Linked DNA regions of Homo sapiens: regions 1, 2, 3, 4 and 5 are each linked to region 6. The links are contacts of gene promoters, found by promoter capture Hi-C in blood cells and fetal thymus (Javierre and others, 2016). All regions are on one chromosome and are shown on one strand. The core of a region is centred on a gene start or on the middle of the fragment in contact, and the rest is flanking DNA. Distances in the headings are between cores, read along the strand shown.

The links. Contacts are between HindIII fragments. The CHiCAGO score rates a contact against its expected background, and 5 or more counts as called.
Region 1: a fragment that was not itself captured here is called in contact with the fragment with the promoter of NDUFA10 in region 6 in 1 of 17 cell types (neutrophils); the score reaches 8.0 in neutrophils.
Region 2: a fragment that was not itself captured here is called in contact with the fragment with the promoter of NDUFA10 in region 6 in 5 of 17 cell types (fetal thymus, total B cells, megakaryocytes and 2 more); the score reaches 8.2 in fetal thymus.
Region 3: a fragment that was not itself captured here is called in contact with the fragment with the promoter of NDUFA10 in region 6 in 2 of 17 cell types (naive CD4 T cells and total B cells); the score reaches 6.8 in naive CD4 T cells.
Region 4: the fragment with the promoter of RNPEPL1 here is called in contact with the fragment with the promoter of NDUFA10 in region 6 in 5 of 17 cell types (activated CD4 T cells, total B cells, endothelial precursors and 2 more); the score reaches 7.0 in activated CD4 T cells.
Region 5: a contact is called between a fragment that was not itself captured here and the fragment with the promoter of NDUFA10 in region 6, in 4 of 17 cell types (neutrophils, total B cells, fetal thymus and 1 more). The highest score is 9.3, in neutrophils.

What each region holds. Positions count from the first base shown.
Region 1 is chr2:239,241,093-239,243,997 of GRCh38, reverse strand. All of the region lies in intron 2 of HDAC4 (histone deacetylase 4), which reads left to right. Among named protein-coding and RNA genes, the nearest start is that of HDAC4-AS2, 49 kb to the right of the region's middle. RefSeq lists an enhancer at 1-127. The HindIII fragment of the contact is 2,011 bases long and covers 395-2,405 here.
Region 2 is chr2:239,395,845-239,398,792 of GRCh38, reverse strand. The region is part of intron 1 of HDAC4 (histone deacetylase 4); the gene reads left to right. Among named protein-coding and RNA genes, the nearest start is that of HDAC4, 3.7 kb to the left of the region's middle. The HindIII fragment of the contact is 1,392 bases long and covers 762-2,153 here.
Region 3 is chr2:239,261,429-239,264,170 of GRCh38, reverse strand. All of the region lies in intron 2 of HDAC4 (histone deacetylase 4), which reads left to right. Among named protein-coding and RNA genes, the nearest start is that of MIR4269, 43 kb to the left of the region's middle. RefSeq lists enhancers at 1-68, 1,619-2,118. The HindIII fragment of the contact is 504 bases long and covers 1,240-1,743 here.
Region 4 is chr2:240,567,206-240,570,049 of GRCh38, reverse strand. RNPEPL1 (arginyl aminopeptidase like 1) reads right to left here and starts at 1,566. Exons shown (of 11, transcript NM_018226.6): 1 at 936-1,566. The coding sequence starts at 1,463. RefSeq lists enhancers at 1-480, 430-609, 481-1,119 and silencers at 880-929, 1,170-1,359, 1,500-1,559, 1,590-1,849. The HindIII fragment of the contact is 8,327 bases long and covers 1-2,844 here.
Region 5 is chr2:239,225,128-239,227,827 of GRCh38, reverse strand. The region is part of intron 3 of HDAC4 (histone deacetylase 4); the gene reads left to right. Among named protein-coding and RNA genes, the nearest start is that of HDAC4-AS2, 33 kb to the right of the region's middle. RefSeq lists an enhancer at 1,816-2,700. The HindIII fragment of the contact is 8,852 bases long and covers 1-2,700 here.
Region 6 is chr2:240,024,039-240,026,888 of GRCh38, reverse strand. It overlaps NDUFA10 (NADH:ubiquinone oxidoreductase subunit A10), which reads left to right and starts at 1,547. Exons shown (of 10, transcript NM_004544.4): 1 at 1,547-1,662. The coding sequence starts at 1,588. RefSeq lists an enhancer at 723-1,552 and a silencer at 1,361-1,620. The HindIII fragment of the contact is 3,872 bases long and covers 266-2,850 here.

The DNA.
Region 1 (2,905 bases), core at 151-2,650, 780 kb after region 6:
GCTGTCAAGGTGGTCAAAAACAAGGAAGGTCTGAGATACTGTTGCAGCCAAGAGAGGCAGGACCCTGGATGGGCGCTAGGACAGAAAATGGGCACCAGGGAAAAACGGAGGAAATCTGAATCAAGTCCGGGCTTTTTCTGTCATGACACCTAAGCACAGCATCCTGATGGAAGGTGTTAGTTGTAGGGCATGGAGGGTGCAGAGTACAGGAATGGAAGATGTTAGTTGTAGGGCATGGAGGGTGCAGAGTATAGGATAAGTCTCTACTAGCTTTAATTTTTCTATAAACTCACAGCTGTTCTAAAACAACACCTTTGTTTGAAAAATATGAAAGGATGGGGAGATTGGCTGCAATGAAGACTGTGTCGTTACTGTTTCCCAGTAGCCCTAAGCTTCCGTTCCCGTGTCTGAAAAGCAGCTCTGTTAGCACAGTGGGGTGTGCACAGTGAGGTGTGACCTATACTACTCTTGAGTCACAGCGGTTTCATTGTTTTTGTCTATGTCAGCAACCCCCCACCAAACACACTTTAGAATGTTAATTTATCCAGCCGGGAGCGGTGGCTCACGCCTGTAATCCCAGCACTTTGGGAGGCCGAGGCAGGCGGATCACAAGGTCAGGAGATCGAGACCATCCTGGCTAACATGGTGAAACCCCGTCTCTACTAAAAATACAAAATACTAGCTGGGCTTGGTGGCGGGTGCCTGTAGTCTCACCTATTCGGGAGGCTGAGGCAGGAGAATGGCGTGAACCTGGGAGGCGGAGCTTGCAGTGAGCTGAGATCCAGCCACTGCAGTCCAGCCTGGGCAACAGAGCGAGACAATGTCTCAAAAAAAAAAAAAAAGGAATGTTAATTTATCCAATTCTCATTTTATGCTCATAACGAAATATTGAAGTGAGGTGCTAAGGTGAAATGTGGGACTGAGGTCTCCAAGTCTTCAGAATCAAGCGTGGAAAAGAGTTTAGGTGTAGCTTGTGTGGAGCTCTTGCTGCCTTCCTGTTCCCAAAAACCCCCTGGGCCTGACCACGCTGGTTTGTCACAGGAATGCAAAGTTAGTTTGACATGAGAAAAAAAAGTTTACTACGTTATCAGATGGAAGGGGAAATTATTTAATAAGCTGAATTGATGCAGAAAAGTTTAATACAGTTAAGCAAACATGTGATTTAAAAATATGTCTTGGCAAACTAGGAGTAGATGGGAACTTCCTTAATCTGATAGTTACCTGTTGGACACCTGCAGCAAGCAATACACTTTCCAGTAAAACATTGAAATATCCTTCGTAAGATCAGAAACAAGACCAAAGTGTCTTTTATCACCATTTCTCTTTAGTTACTGTACTGTAGGACTGAGCCAGCAGAATAAAGAAGAAGAAAAGGTGTGAGGTCTGGAAGGTGGAAACAACTGTCATTATTTGTACGTGACCTGATTCTATATGTAGAAAATACACGATAACTACAGAAAAATGATTGAAATTAATATTCTACGATACAGAACCAATAAGTAAAAATTAATTGTGTTTCCATATGCAAGCAAACAGAAATTGATAATGGAAATCAAATATCAAATACCTAGTAATAAATCTAAAGATGTTCAAGACCGCAACACTGAAAATTCTGAAACATTTCTGAGAGAAATGAAAGGAGGTAATAGCCCATGTTCATGGATTGAAAGATGCAGTACTGTAAAGATTATCTTCTCTCAAAATGACAGATGCAGTGCAATCCCAGGCACTGTTCGTTTCCCTCCCTCCCTCCCTCCCTCCCTCCCTTCCCCTCCTTCCTCTCTCGTCCTCTCTCTTTCTCTCCCTCTTTCTCTCTCTCTCTTTCTTTCTCTTTTCTTTCTTTCTCTTTCTTTCTTTCTTTCTCTTTCTCCTTCTTTCTTTCTTTCTTTTTTTCTCCTTCCTTCCTTCCTTCCTTCCTTCTCTTTCTTTCTTTTTCTCTTTTCTTTTCTTTTGGTGGAACTTGTCAAGTTAATTTTAAAATTTATGTGGCGGAGTAAAAGGCCAATTTTGCCCAAGATGATCTGGAAGAAAAAAGTAGGGTTTTTTGCCTTGCCAATATTAAGAGTTATTGTACAGTTATGGTGGTTAAGACAGTGTGATTATTGGCAAAACCAAAAACAAGTTGGCCAACAGGATTGAGATTTGGCTTATAAGGGAACTAATGTTGCCCATCCATGGTGAAAGATAAGACCTCTTAATAACACTGAGGGGACATTTGGCTGTTATCATAGGAAAACATACCCCAAACCCCTGTCTCATAGCGTATACAAACATCAGTGCCAGTAGATGAGAGACTTACATATAAAAGGGAACACTGCAAAGTTTCAGGGTAAAAATATGTTAAAATATCTCTGCAGCCTCCAGGAAGAGAAGAGTTTCTTGAACCTGACATAAAAGCAGAAGCTTTGAAAGATTGAGAAATAGGACCTTTGAGAGGATATCTGCAGCATTTAATTGACAGAGGATTAATGTTCAGAATTTGTAAAGAATTCCTCTGAATCAATAAGAAAAAGACAACCCAACTGGGGGCAAAAAACAGGTCAAAAAGACATGAATCCAAAACAGCCAGTGAAAAAGCCAATAAACATGTAAGAAGATGGTCAGTGTCATTGGTCATCTGGGAAAGACAAATGAAACCTTCAAGAGACACCCTTTCACCCCAACCTGGGCAGGACTAGGTGTTCCCAGGCAGGTCCCAAGGGTGGAAACCACACTTTCTCCCCACTCCCTTCCCCTCCCAGTTCAGGAGCCTGTGCGTGGGGCTTTCATGTACTTTCTTTATTGGCTCAAGAAACCTCCTTTCTTGTGTGTCGGTATTGTGATGTGAAACCCTTGGTGGAGGGCACTGGTCTTGGTGGGTACCTGTTTGCTCAAGGTCCAGCTTCAGACAAGCCGCTGGTTTAAT
Region 2 (2,948 bases), core at 208-2,707, 630 kb after region 6:
TGCATATGGGCCTGGAAGGCCTAGGGACGAAGGACAGATGTGGCCTCGGAGCCCTGCACCAGAGAGAATGTTCTGTGTTCAGCAGCTTCCTAGCCATGCAAAATAAAAATCCCCAAATGCCATATTCTCGGAGGCCTTGGGGGCTGTTGCTGTAGCAAGATGGACAGGACAACCTGGCACGCTGGCCACGTGCGGCTCAGGCAGCCCATCTGGACTCTGTGGCCAGAGACCTCGTTGAGAAGAATGCCCTATGGATGTTTACCAGGAGGACTCTAGTGCTGGAAGTTTCCACACATTGTGGGGTTGCTGCAGTTTAATTTTGTTATAACTCTTTCCTTTTAACTACTGCATATTTATGCCCAGTAATCGACTTCCATTCTCCAGCTTCATTGTGAGGTTTCAATGCAGCATGAATGGCTTTGAATTCCAATCCTTTAATGTTGGGGGTGGCACCAAAGGAAAGGCGACTTTATGCTGTCTTAATTGCCGGAGCAGAAGAAACATTTCATCACTCCTGTAGAATTCATCCATACCATTCTCTATTGAAAACGGCTGGGCTTTCATAGCTCAGAAGCTGCCATGAGTAATATATTAATACCTGATGTAGGGCGCGAAGGAGCCGCAGAGGCCGAGAGAACTGCCGTTGCTGAGAGGCAGCGGGGCGACAGGCTGTGGCCGGGCTTTCCTCCGAGGCTCAGAATTGATGACTAGCTGGGGATGGGGGAACTGAAGGGCGAAGGGGCCCAGTCTCCACCTAAGCTTGGGGCTGTGGAACCGAGACTGAGCCCCTGCCCTGTTGTTGGCAGCCCCCAGTCTGTCCTGGGGTAAGGAGTCGGAAAGGATGGATTTGGAGGGAGTGTTTGTTTTGATTTCAGGTGGTCAGCATATGCCCTGCCGTGTGGTGGGCTCTGGGTTTTTGGCCTTGACGTTAGAGGCGGGTACTGCACCTTCTGGTTCAGGTCAGATGAGGGGTGCCATGTCAAAAGTGATGCTACCTTTGAACAGACCTTAACTCATTCATAAGCGTTTCTGTGGGAACAAGTGTCACTAAGGTCAGTAAGTTCTCTTCATACGGTCAGTTTTCTTCTCTTGGGCTTCTGTGCGTGGGAAGAGTGGGACCTGTTTTGGGGTGGCATGAGGGCCATGGTGCCTGCAGCATTAAATGGCCATGTCCCCTTGCTGCAGCCTCACTGACAAACCTCCTACTCACTTCCTAGAAGGAGGGTCAGGGTCCTACATGTCCCCTTGCTGTGGCCTTGCTGACACACCTCCTACTCACTTCCTGGAAGGAAGGTCGGGGTCCTGCATAGATTGCCCCCACCGTGACTTCCTGTATCACTGTCGGGGGATGAGGATGTATCCTGGAGCAAGGAGATGATGCCACGAGCAGCTGTCACGTGCTCCCGTAGCTGACGCCAGATGAGCACCTGCTTGGGGCTCGTGCTGTTTCATGCACTCACCATGTAGGTGTCAGCACAGTCCTGCAGGTGGGCTCTACCTCTGGAGGAACTGGGGGTAGAATGAAATGGACCATGTGCCACCCCCTGCATCTCCAGTCCCAAAGGCCAGTTCCTCTCCGTGCCTCTGCTTCTAGGCTGGTGGTGACCTTGAAGCTGAAGTTCAGCTTGTCGAGGTGCTTGGGCGAACACAGCCTCTTAGAGAAGAGGACGATTTGGAATACCTTTCTAGTTCAGTGTCGTTAGACTTTCTAGTGCTGTGTTGACTGTTCTTGGCGCTGTTACAGGCGCGTTTCATAGGTCTGGGCAGTACTTCTGGCTTTCTCATGCTGTCTTATGTCACGTGTGGGACTGCAGAACTAGAAGACATCATGTTCTTCTCCTGCAAAGTCCCCAGGACGCCTGGAGGCAGGTGGGGGTGACGGAAGGGAGCTAATGCTCCAAGTCCACTTCAGCCGGAGCAGCTTTTAGTGTTTGTTGTTCGGTCTGTTGATTACCTTGGAAGATTTTATTGGAAGAAAGCATTTGAGGACCAAGTTAATCTACTCTTTCAATACCAACCCAGAAACCTTAAAGAAAATCTTGACAGATTTAATAGGATAAGAGTTTTTTAAAAAATCTCTTTGGCAAAAGACTCCGTCAGCCGGGCTAAGAGACGAGAGAGAAAATACATACCACATTATGCCTGTGTAAGCTTAACAGTCAATATATAAAGAGCTTTTACAGACCAATAAGGAGAGCATGAGATCACCATTGCAAGATGAGCAGAACGTATGAACATTGAATCATTGTGCCAGTGATGAAAGGTTAGCATTACTAATCAATTCAGTGTGAAGGAGATTCCCTTTATGCCTATCATATTGGCGAGTTTGATGATACCTGTTGCTGGTCATAATAATAATTTCTATTTTGTAAGGTTTTTGCAAAGTTTAAGTTAATGTATGGAAATTTCCTTGAATAGGGCCTGGCATGTAGTAAGCATGATATAAATGTTGGCTGTTATTTATTATCATTTGCTCTCTGGAGAGACCCATATGTATTATTATATAAAATATAATAGGGCTGGGCGAGGTACCTTATGCCTGTAATCCCAGAACTTTGGGAGGCCAAGGTGAGAGGATCACTTGAGCCCAGGAGTTCAAGACCAGCCTGGGCAACATAGTGAGACCCTCATCTCTACAAAAAAAAAAAAAAAATCAGGCATGACGTCGTGTGCCTGTAGTCCCCATTACTTGGGAGGCTGTGGCAGGAGAATCACGTGAGCCTGGAAAGTCAAGGTTGCAGTGAGGTGTGATTTTGCCACTGCACTTCAGCCTGAGTGACACAGCGAGACCCTGGGCTGTCCCCCCCAAAAAAGTTTATATATGTAATGTATAAACATAAAATAGTGATTACCGAATTGCTCTCTAGAAAAGTCTTAAGTGTCAAAATCTTAAATGCCATTCTCCTTGTCCCCACAGTTCTACATTTTGAAATCTATTCTAAGGAAAG
Region 3 (2,742 bases), core at 242-2,741, 760 kb after region 6:
ATGGCCTTTGGGGTGTGACCTTAGGCTGAGGCCAGAGCCCGTCTCCCCACGAGCTCCCCGCCTGGCCTGGGAAAGTCAGCCCCCTCCTTTCCAGGGCTGTGTCTTCCCCCTTTTGTTTTCAGTCATTGAGCCCCCGCTCGAGGATGGCCCCCACCCCAAAGGTCCTGTGTGCCCTGAGTAAGCCACTGGCTCTCAGAGGTGCCCACGTACCCTTCCTTTCAGACTGAGGGGAGCAGTGGCCAGACAGGGCTCTGCCTTCACGGAGCTTCCCCTCTGCAGAGAAGGGGCAGAGTGGCGTCACTGGGCAGCCAGCTTAGATCGAGCAGCAGGAGGCGAGGCTCAGCCGAGTCGGACAGCTGGGGCCAGGCAGGCGGCTTGCTCTGCATGCCCAGGACAGCAGCACTGGGCTCTGTCCCCCCGTCGGTGCCCCCGTGTCTCTCAGGAACCCCTTCAGATGTGGTTAACACCTCCAACTTGGAGGCCTTTCCTGACTGTCCTGACCCTGTTTATTCTTCTCTCCCGTGTCCTTCTAGAACATACTCTCAGGCAAGGCATGAAGATGCTGCTGTGTGTAGAGCCTCACTTCCCTGCCCTTGCCCCTGTCCTTGACAGCAGCTCCGTGCGGGCCTAGCAATACCCGTTGGGCATCAGTGCCAAGAGCTGCCCTGCCTGGGGGTTCCTGGTGGTGTAGACGTGGACGCCTCCACACCTGTGCAGTGAGGCCCATGGGGCAGCTCCGAGGGGGAAGCTGTTCACCTGCTGCCTGTTGTGAAGAGAAGGGGTGATCTCCAGGCAGGGGACTGGGCGGGCTTCGGGGCGGCTGATGTGCAAGGGGCTGGGATGGGCGGGGGTCCTCAGGGTGGGCTTCGAGACAGCTGATGTGTAGGGGGCTGGGCTGGGCGGGGGTCCTCAGGGCGGGCTTCGGGATGGCTGATGTGCAGTTGCACAGTGGCCCCGTGCCCTTGGAGCCATTCTGACCTCTGGGGCAGAGGCTAGGGCACCGACACAGCAGACATGAAGGAGGGTAGTGTTTTTCATATTTTCTAGCAGTAATTGCAGTGGTGTGTATGTGCCTGTGTCACCGCCGCAGCAGGTTCTGGGATCTTCTCTTGGTCCCGAGTGTTTGGGGCAGTGTCCACATCCTTCATTCTCTCGTGTCTTCATCGGCATAATGGGCCCTTCCTGGGGCTTGGCTTCCCGGGGGCTTCACGCGTAGATCTTTCGTGAAGCACAGAAGCTTCCAGGCTGTCTCAGTGGTGCCGTGACCTTCCAGTGAGGGATCCACTCCTTAGAGCCTCACGCTCTCCTGCTCACCAGGGCACCAGCTTTTCCAAGAGCTGCTGGGTGGATCCCAGAACAGTCCCTCCGTGTCCTTAGTGCCTGAGCACAGGCCTCCTCGTCTGTGTTCTTGGGCTGCGAGCGTGGCCCACAGAATGCCCTGTGCCCGTTGCGCCTTCAGCCGTGTGCACCCTTGGGGGTGTCCCGCTTGTGGTGCCTGCCCACCCCTGCACTAGCCCAGGTCTCGTTGGTCCCACACTCTTGCCCAGAAAATGGAGCCAGGCTGAGGATGGGGACATTTGGCCAAGAGTGTCAGAGCCAGGCTCTGGCCCCCTCAGAGTAGAGATCAGTCTTGCCTGCTAATGGCATTACCTCATCTCGGACCTGGGCAAACAAGGCAAGGGTGATTTGAGAAGATCCTCGTCTGTTTCTAATTAAATTTCTATCTCTGCTTTCACAAAAGCTTCTCTTTTATCTCTTCCTCCTAATTATTTTTAAAATCTCAAGGAAAATACATCCCTTCCACTTACGATTCCGCAGAGAACCAAATTGCTACTCTGTTTCTAAAGTGTGTTATTGTGGTCTCTGATACTAAGCCAAGGTTTCTGTAATCCCACTAAAATTTTATCTCACATCACAGAAATTTAGGATTCCCCCAAGGAGACACCACAGGAGGAAATACTAGCTTATAAAAAGCCACGTGGATACCTTGTCGTGGGTCTCAGTGGACCGTGGCTCCTTCTTGGGCCTTGGGGTGAGCGTGGCCCGGCGTCACTGCAGGCGGCGCTGGCGTGGTTGGGAGGGTCCCTCAGGGCTTTCCCTTGGAGCGACAAGGGGGCAGATGCCACCCTGCTGGATTCCCACCTAGGGCCTCTGTGTCTGGGGCCTTCAGGGAAGAGGCCAACCTGTAGGGGCCGGGGGCTCACGAAGGCAGTGCTTTCATGGCGCCAGGCAACCCGAGGACCCTCCGACATAGGCTTTTCGAGACTCTCAGTTGCCCTGGGCAGGCTGGCAGCAGAACCTCCTGGCTGGGCCGGGTGGGGGGTGTCCCTGCCGGGCTCCTGCCACTGTTAAGGAGCGAGGGAAGGTTCTGGGGTGGTTTGAGTTGGAAACCTCGCCTTCTAAGAGTGGACCAGCCCACTGCTGCCCCTTCCTCCCCGTGGGCCTGGGCCACCATCTCACCAGGCCCTCTTAGGACGCTGACTTCTGCTTTTCTTCAGCAGGGAGACCCCTTGTCCAGCCTTGTCTCTAGCCCGTGGGTTGTGGGGGAACCAGAAGGCTCCTCCTCTGTGGACCTGAGGCTCCCAGCCTGGGAAGTCTACATGCTGGCTGGCAGGCTAGTAAGATGCCCATTTTTGGCAACTGTTGAAGCGTGTTTTGTCATGTCCTAGGATGCCCCATGGATGCACCTAACAGGGTCCCCAGGGCCTGCCCACCTCCCAGAGCCCAGGCCTGCCACGGTTT
Region 4 (2,844 bases), core at 317-2,816, 540 kb before region 6:
CCCACAGGGGTTCTGGGAAAAAGGTGAGGTGGCAGGTCCTGCTTAGGGCTCCTGGGAAATGTACAGGAAGCCCATAGGGGTGCACTGGTCTGGGTTCTTCCTGCCCAGATGTCACCTTGGCTCTTTGTGGCCTGAAGCCTCTCGACCACCTCTCCACCACCCTGTCCATTTATGTGCCGTGACCAGTGACAGCTGGACTTCCCAGCGCCTCCACAGCTGTGTGTGTCTTGCATATGTCGGGTGTCACATGTGTGCCGTCCATACCACCTAGGGATGCAGTATGAACCCCCATGCTGTAGGCAGGAAAGGCCCTGCTCCATCCTGTACACATCCCCACTGGTGGAGGTGGAGGGGGTGCTGCAGCCACAGCGCCAGCCTCAGCCACCTGGCCTTTCTTGCAGAGTCTCTGGAGTGGTGGGTACCCAGTGTGCAAGCCCTGCAGAGCCTATGTGTGTCTATGTTGGGGTCGCGGGGCCCACTGGTCTCAACACTCCACCAGTGCTGGCCAAGGAAGCCCCAAACCGAGCATCACAATCTCCATGGCCCTTTCCTCTGCCTCTGGCTTGGACTCATCTGCACGCACTGGTCACATGGAGGCCCTTCCGCAGCTGACACTCCAGCCCAACCCTTGGTGCCAGGATCCTGCAGATGTACACCTCGGTGGGTGACAGAAGCTGCTCATGTCCCCAGGCAGGGACCAGACACCTGAACGGGAGGCTTCCCGGAGTGACATGCTGTCCCGTGTCCCCGCAGGACTCCGGCTTCTATCCGAGGGTCCTAAGGGCTCACAGGCAACAGCTGGGAATCACCGGGGTGGGGGGAGGGGGGCACCTGTAGGGCGCAGATTCGCGTCCCTCAGCCTGGCCGTGCGGCGAGAGGCCGCTAGCAGCGCCCTGCGGACCGGCCCGCAGCCCCGGCGCCCGCCCCGGACTCACGGCGGGGGCGTCGGTCGAGGTGTACCGCAGGATGACCTGGAAGGGCTGGTGCGCCTGCAGCTCGGGCGGCAGCGTGACGGTGAGCGAGGAGCCGTAGTCGGTGAACGGGTCCACCCTGAAGGCCAGCGGACAGCAGGCGGGCTCGGAGCCGGGCGCCTCGGGGAAGGCGGGCAGCGGGGGCGGCGGCGCGGGCCCCGGCCCGGGGGCGGAGAAGGCGAAGGCGCAGGGCGTCTCGGCGGCGGCGGCGGGGGCGCGACGGAAGGCGGCTGAGTGCAGGCGCAGAGCCGGGTGCGCGTCGAGCACGAGCGCGCGGGGCGCGGGCCGCAGCGCGCACAGCTCGAGCACCAGGCAGCCGGCCAACTCGCGCGCCTCGGGCCGCAGCTCCAGGCCCAGCTGCAGGTGGCGGAGGCGGAAGAGCTGCGCGCTGGAGGCCGAGGCCACGTCCAGGGCGGGCGGCGGCTCGGGCGGCGGGCGGACGGGCGCGGCCTCGGCGCCGGGCGCCTGGCGGCAGCAGCACTGCGCGGCCATGGCCGCCGGCACTAGGTGAAATCCATGGGCGGCGGCCGCGCCGGGCCGCGGGCGAGGGGCGCCGGGCGGCGGCGGCGGCGGGGCGCGGGCACAACAGGAAGTCGCGCCGGGAGCCGCCCGGCCCGGCCCCGCGCCGTGCGCCGCCCCGCTCGGGCTCCGCTCGGCCGCCGCCGGGGGCGCTGTGCGCGGGGCCGGGGCGCGGGGCCGGGGCGCCGGGCGGGGAGGGCCAGGAGCCAGGGGCGCGGGGAGCCGGGGAATCGAGCGCGGCGCGGGGCCGGGGCGCTGTGTTGGGAGCCGAGGCGCGCGGAGCGGGTGAGCAGCACCCCCAGCCCCTCGCTTCCTCCCCGGGCGGCGCCCGGGAGATCCCAGGAGGCGGGATCGCTGCTCCCTCCCAGACACTGCCGGCCAGGCCCCTGGGGCAGCCGCTGAAGGGACCCGGGAACCTTGGGGCCACAGGGGCAGGCTGCTTCCAGGTGTGGTTCGTGTTCCCGAGGAGCGCAGCGTCGCGAACTCAATGTCATCCTTTCATCCGGGGCTACGGGCAGGGCAGGATTCTCCTGGCACCCCTGCCACTCCTCCAAGTCTACAGGTGTGGTCTGTGCTGTGGGCCCTGCGGTGCGAGAAGCGCCGGAGCCTTCACGCAGCGCTGTCAACTACAGCAGCCACCAACCACGTGTGGCCATTTAGATGCGAATTAAATACAGTTAGAAGTTCAGTTCCTTCGTGGCAGGTGGAGTGAGTGAGTGTGTGTGTCTTCCTGGGAGGAGTGGCTAATGGACAAAGCAGGCAGGAATCATTTCCACAATCGCAGAAGTTCCTCTGGGCAGTGCTGGGGACCTCTCATTTGGGAGCCCTGTGCTGGGGTACGAAGGAGGGTCTGGCCCGCCTGTCCCCACCCCATCCGCCAGGTCCACCCTTCCCAACGCCATTCTCTGTGGACCTGGCGAAGGCTGCCCAAGGCTGAGCCTGTCCAGGAGCCTGAGCCCCGAGGGAAGGGGTGCTCGCCTGGCAGAAGCTGCTAGTGAGCTCACAGCGGTTAAATTTTGAGGCTGTGGAATAACAGGGGCCACCATGATGTCGCTGTTGTCATCAAGTAAGAATTCAAATTCCTAGGGACAAGGGGCTTCTGGGGCTGGGGAACTATCCAGGAACCCAGGACACCTCTCTCTTCTGCTCCATTGAGGTGTGGCCGTGCAGGGCTGGACTCGGGTACCGCACTCGACTCAGCGTCAGCCCTGAGTAGTGTTTCCTGTGTCTGGACTCAGTCTCCTCGTTGTGTAACCCTCTGTGTCTACCCTCCTTCCGTGGGGCGGGAAGGAAGGCTGAGAGGGAGAGTGTGCGTTCACGTTTGCGGGACAGAGCACTGAGGCATCATTTCAGT
Region 5 (2,700 bases), core at 199-2,698, 800 kb after region 6:
GCAGGGCGATGACTCTCGTGAAGCTGCTGAGTCAGTCACATTTGCCTTCAGAGGGCCCTTCTGGCTTTTAATGGTGTTAGCCCTCTGAGGCTTGCTTGCTCATTTCACCGGGCAGAGACTATGTTCCTCCGCACCCGAGGCATGCCCTCCTGTCCTGGAACTCCAGGGCTGCCTCCCGCTCCTTCCGCTTGTCTTTGGAGGGCCTGTCTTCCCTTCTCTCTGTCTGCATTTCCCCAAGGTGCTTGTCTGTCTGTCCAGGCTCTGCCTTCTGTGATGACAGTCTTCCTGGCCTTTCTGGTGAGCACGGTATCTGCCATCTGTAGCAGAGGGCACTGAGGCTGGCGGGACCTGCAGGGGCATGCAGGGTGCTGGCCGCTGGGGGCTGCCCGGTCCCACTTGGCATGGTGTCCAGCAGGCTGCTTAGCCCCTGTGACCTCACTGGGAGGGCCCAATGCTGCCTGCCCTGCCCCCATGCTGGGGCAGGAAGACCAGGACACCTCACGTGTAGCTGGCCAGCTTCCACTGGTCCGCAGTTTTCAGTGCTGTTCCATCTCCCTCTCCAGAGGGTAGTAGTCCCTGGGCTCTGCCAGCCACGTGGGGTAAGCGGTGGTTGGGGCCCTGCATTCCCTGAGCAGATATTTCATTCTCCTTCACCTCCAGTCCTGGTCCCACCAGCCCCTGTGCCCCGGAGGGCTGTGTGACCGAGACTGGTCTGCCCCTCCCTTGGCCCACCCTGGCTGATGGGTCAGCTTTGCTGTCTCTGATACCTTATTCACCCAGATCCTTTCTGACTTCCAGCATTTTGTGGCTGCTCTCTCATCTCCTGTGTGTGTGTTGTGTTGGTGTGTCTTTCTAAACAATCCACACACTGTTTCAGCAGAATCTTGGAGGGATCCTGACAACGTGATTGTGTTCACTCTGTTATTTTTGACCAGAAATGCCCTGTGGCTCTGAAATGCCACCCTGTGGCTGGCAGGTGGGACCGTGCCTCCCCACGCGGCCCAGGACACTGCTGCCTGCCAGCCCCACCCGTGAGCCTGCCGGCCTCACTTTCCAACTGGTTCTTTCCCTGTCCGCAGTGCCTGAGGCAGAAAGATAGAAAGTTTCTCCATCCTGGGTGGACATTAGATTGTTTGGGTTATCTACATTTATCACCCCCCCCATTACATGTTACATTGTTGTTGTTGCTGTCGACCCAAAGATTTCTGAAGAGCTTACTGTCTGCCCTTAGCAAGGAACATGGGTGGTAAGAAAGCAGACGGTTATTGGTTGGGGCGTCGTGGAGAATTGGGGGTGCTGTCTGAGAAATATCCTCTGGGTGCTTCTAAAACCGTCCACACATCCACAGCAAATCTGGATGGGGTGGAGCTGGTGACTGGTTGTTTCTCTACTTTAGAGGGAGAGAGAAAGCTATGTGGCAGTCCCAGCAGTGCCCCTCAACCGTGTTGATACAGAATACAGAGAAATCTCACTGAGTATCTCTCAGGGAGGATTCCACAGTTCTAAGTGATGATTGGTTGGAAGAAAGGATTTTTTTTTTCCACTGAGAATTTGGTTTGGTTTGTGTATTCGGAGTGTCACTGGTGGCCAAAAGTATTATCCAGGAATGAATTTTTGCATCATGACATCATTTCTGGTTAAAGGGCTTTTTATCTTTTTTCTTTTATTACCAGCTTTGTGTGCTTTAAGGCTGTGGACTGTAAAATGTATCCAGAGGGCCTGCGGAGCCCCTCAGTGGCATCTGGAAGCCTGTGCCGCCAGGACGAGGGAGATGGCTCTTTGCCGACCCTTGTCTGTGTTAGGGTGTCGCGGTGCAGCTGAAAGGGAGTTCCTTCTCAGCAGCCACATTTGACCCTAATGTCATGTTTTCGCCGTACCAACACCATGTCCCCTACCAGAGGAACCTGCCCATCTTTTAAGGAAGGTTTCCATTTCTGGACCTCACAGCAAGATGCACACACTGTCACACGTGATGCAGAACCAAACTCAGGCCCTCTGTGTTTCCAATGAGGGGCTCCGAGGGGCCATCAGAGCCAGGTGTCTGACCAGGTGAGGGAGGACTGGAGGTGTCCCTTGGGTAGCAGTACGTGGCCACGGGCGAGGGGAAGAAATTGAAGGCGGTTTAGTCAGGCGCCTGAGGAAGGGGCTGGCACTTCTTTCAGTTCTACAGCACCCAGCCCTGCGTGGGCCTTCCTGGGCGGGCCTGCCCTCCCCTGCCGACCTGCCTTCCCCGCCTTCCTGGCTTCCCTCTCCTGCTCTTGAGCCCAGCCAGGCTCCACCCCTCCATCCAGGTGTTTCTCATCCCCCCCTGGGGTGGGGGCACCCTGCAGGTGGTGGGAGTCCAGCTATGCTTTACTCTCCCGCAGACCGACTTCTGCCTTCGTGGATCTGCTCTTGTGGGTGTGTTCTCTGTTTTATTAATTCCTGTTTTAATAGCTGTTCTCCTTTCTCTGCATTTATTCGGATATGCTTGTTCTTTTAGGTTGAACATTTCACTTGTTAATTTTTAGCCCTTCTTCCTTTCGGATGGAGGCATTCAGGGTTCTGTGCTGTGCTTCCCTTGGGGTTCAAATGGGGCTGCTTTGGATAAGTTCTAATTTGTATTATTTAATTTGTAAAGCATATTACATTAACACTTCATAAAGTCTTGGTGTTTCTCAAGAGAGTTATTTTGAAATTTGCTTTTTGGTTCCTTTTTTA
Region 6 (2,850 bases), core at 298-2,797:
GTCTCAAAGGTGGTGTTTTTCTAACTCGCTCAGGTACAACAAAACATCCACGCAAACAGGTTGTGAGAAGTTACGTCTGCGTGCTGTGATACCTAGAGGAACCACTACGAAAACTATACATAATGATATTTCCCAAGACATTATCAGTAAATCAAGATGGAATTCTAAAAAAATGTACTGTATCCATTGGAAGGCACAAAAAAAAAAAAAAAAAAAAAATGCAAAGGAAACAAGGCAAAAAACAGCAGACATGAACCCTAAAGCTTGTTAAATGGATTTCAGGTGCCCTCCAGGATCTAAAAACCAGACCCTCCTGCGTTGGGGACCGGGAATCCGTATTTTTGACAAAAAGCAATTCTTCAATTATAGAAACATCCATAGAACCGGCCGTAGTTTACACAGCTGCATTCCCACTGTTTTACAATCGCATGATCATTTCTGAAAAGTTGAAAACAAAGTTAAAGAATATTTAAGGGGTTAAGAACAAAAAGCCTGGGGAACACAAAAGATTATAAAAACCCTTCCCAACAGCAGGCATACTTGGAAGGAAACCTCACATGCAAGGCTCCTTCGTGGAGCCCAGAGCCCAGGTCCTGACGGGAGCACATTTTAAGAGATGGACTTGCCGGCGCGGTGGCTCACGCCTGTAATCCTAGCACTTTGGGAGGCCGAGGCGGGTGGATCACGAGGTCAGGAGATCGAGACCATCCTGGCTAACATGGTGAAACCCCGTCTCTACTAAAAATACAAAAAATTAGCCGGGTGTGGCGGCGGGCGCCTGTAGTCCCAGCTACTCGGGAGGCTGAGGCAGGAGAATGGCGTGAACCAGGGAGGCGGAGCTTGCAGTGAGCGCGATGGCGCCACCGCACTCCAGCCTGGGCGACAGAGCGGGACTCTGCCTCAAAAAAAAAAAAAAAAAAAAAAAAAAAAAAAAAAAAAAAAAGAGATGGACTTGGAGCGTGTGCTTTTGTTTTCTATGCTATTCAATGTGTTCACAGCAGGTCCCCTGGATGAGACCACTTAGCCTTCAGCTCCGGAGGCGACCCAGGCCGGCCTTGCCAGGTCCCTCTCCCTGACAGGCGCCCCGCGACAGGGGTCCCACCCCGTCCCTCCGCTCCTCGCCCCCTCTTTTTCCACTTTCCCTCCCCAGCGAGAACGTTCTGAGAGCTAGGAATGTTCTCTAGGAGGTCGCTTTGACGTCCACACCGCGCCTGGGGGATTCTGCGGGGAGCACAGGACCCTGGGACGAGACGCAGAAGTCGCTCCACGCCCTGGGCGGCCTCAGCTCCCGCGACACCGCAGCAACTCAGAACCCAGGCAGGGGCCGGGCAGCCAGCATGCTGCCCCCACGTTCACCTCCAACTCCCACCTCTCGGCCCTCGCCCCAACCCGCAGGACCCTGGCAGCGCACTGGCTGTCTCCGCGGAAGCCCCCGAGGGCCTCGGCGCGGCCCCGCCCCCTGGAAGGTTCCCGACAGGCGCCGCGGGCACCCCGGCCGTGACGTCACGGCAGCGCGCCGGCCGCGAGAGAGGGCCCCGTCGCGACCGCGTCCCCTTGGGTCCTTGATCCTGAGCTGACCGGGTAGCCATGGCCTTGCGGCTCCTGAAGCTGGCAGCGACGTCCGCGTCCGCCCGGGTCGTGGCGGCGGGCGCCCAGCGCGTGGTGAGCGGGCGGCGGGGTGGCAGGGTGGCGGGGTGGCAGGGTGGCGGGGTGGCGGGGTGGGGAGCAGTTCCACATCTCCCCCGGCCTCTGGCGGCGGCTCCCAGGTCGCTCTCCGGGTGGGTTTGGGGGACCCCTCCTGCCTCCGGAATTGTTTGGTCTTTGGTCGTGGACAGACCTCAGGGGGCCACGAGCTTCTCCAGGCCATTTTATCTCAGCTTTAAGCAAAACGCTGGAGCGCGGAGGTGATCAGGGCCCCGAGGCTGCCCTGATGCGGGAGGCCCGTGTGCAGGTGGCAGGCCGGGGGCACACGCGCTTGTCATTAGATAATTCACGTAGCAGCCCTGTCAAGAGCCGTTTAAAGGTCGGGCCCTGCTGGGTGCTTGGGTGATGCCATGTTGAGCAGACACGGAGTTCAGTGCTTGTGTCCGCTTCCTTTTGCCTTTACTCTGACTGACTACTCTCATTTCTTAGCATTTTGCCCCCACCTTCTTCAGTGAAATCGTTTCATACATTTGTAACACAGTTGGATTGCTTTGTCACATTCTGCCTTACATCTTGGGATCCTTCTACCTAATGCGTTTTTTAAAATGTGCATACATTGAGCGCATTCTTTGTGCTATAAGGTTCTATGGATTTTTTCTTTGTGCTATAAGGTTCTATAGGTTTTGACACGTGTGTAATAGCATGTCTCCACCATTATAGGTTCGTACAGAGTAGCTTCACTGCCTTAAAAAATTCCCCTCTGCTTTACCTATTAAACCCTTCTTTTTCTCCAACCCCTGACAACCACAGATCTCATTAACATTTCCATAGTTGCCTTTTCTGGAATGTCATATAATTAGAATCATACAATATATTGCCTTTTCAGACGCCTTGAATACTTGGAAATATCTATGTAAGATTCACTTATGTCTTCGTGGCTTGGTAACTCATTTCTTTTTAATCACTGAGTAATATCTCATTGCATGGATGTACTTCAATTCATTCAGCAATTGAAGGGCATCTTGGTTGCTTCAAGTTTTTGGCAATTATGAATAAAGCTGCTGTAATCGTGTACATGCAGATTTCTTTTTGGAAATACATTTTTATATCATTTGGGTAATACCTGGAAGAGCGATTACTCATGTAGTAAGACTAGTTTTCTAAGAAGCTGCCAAGCCATCTTCCAGAGTGACTGTGCCATTTGAC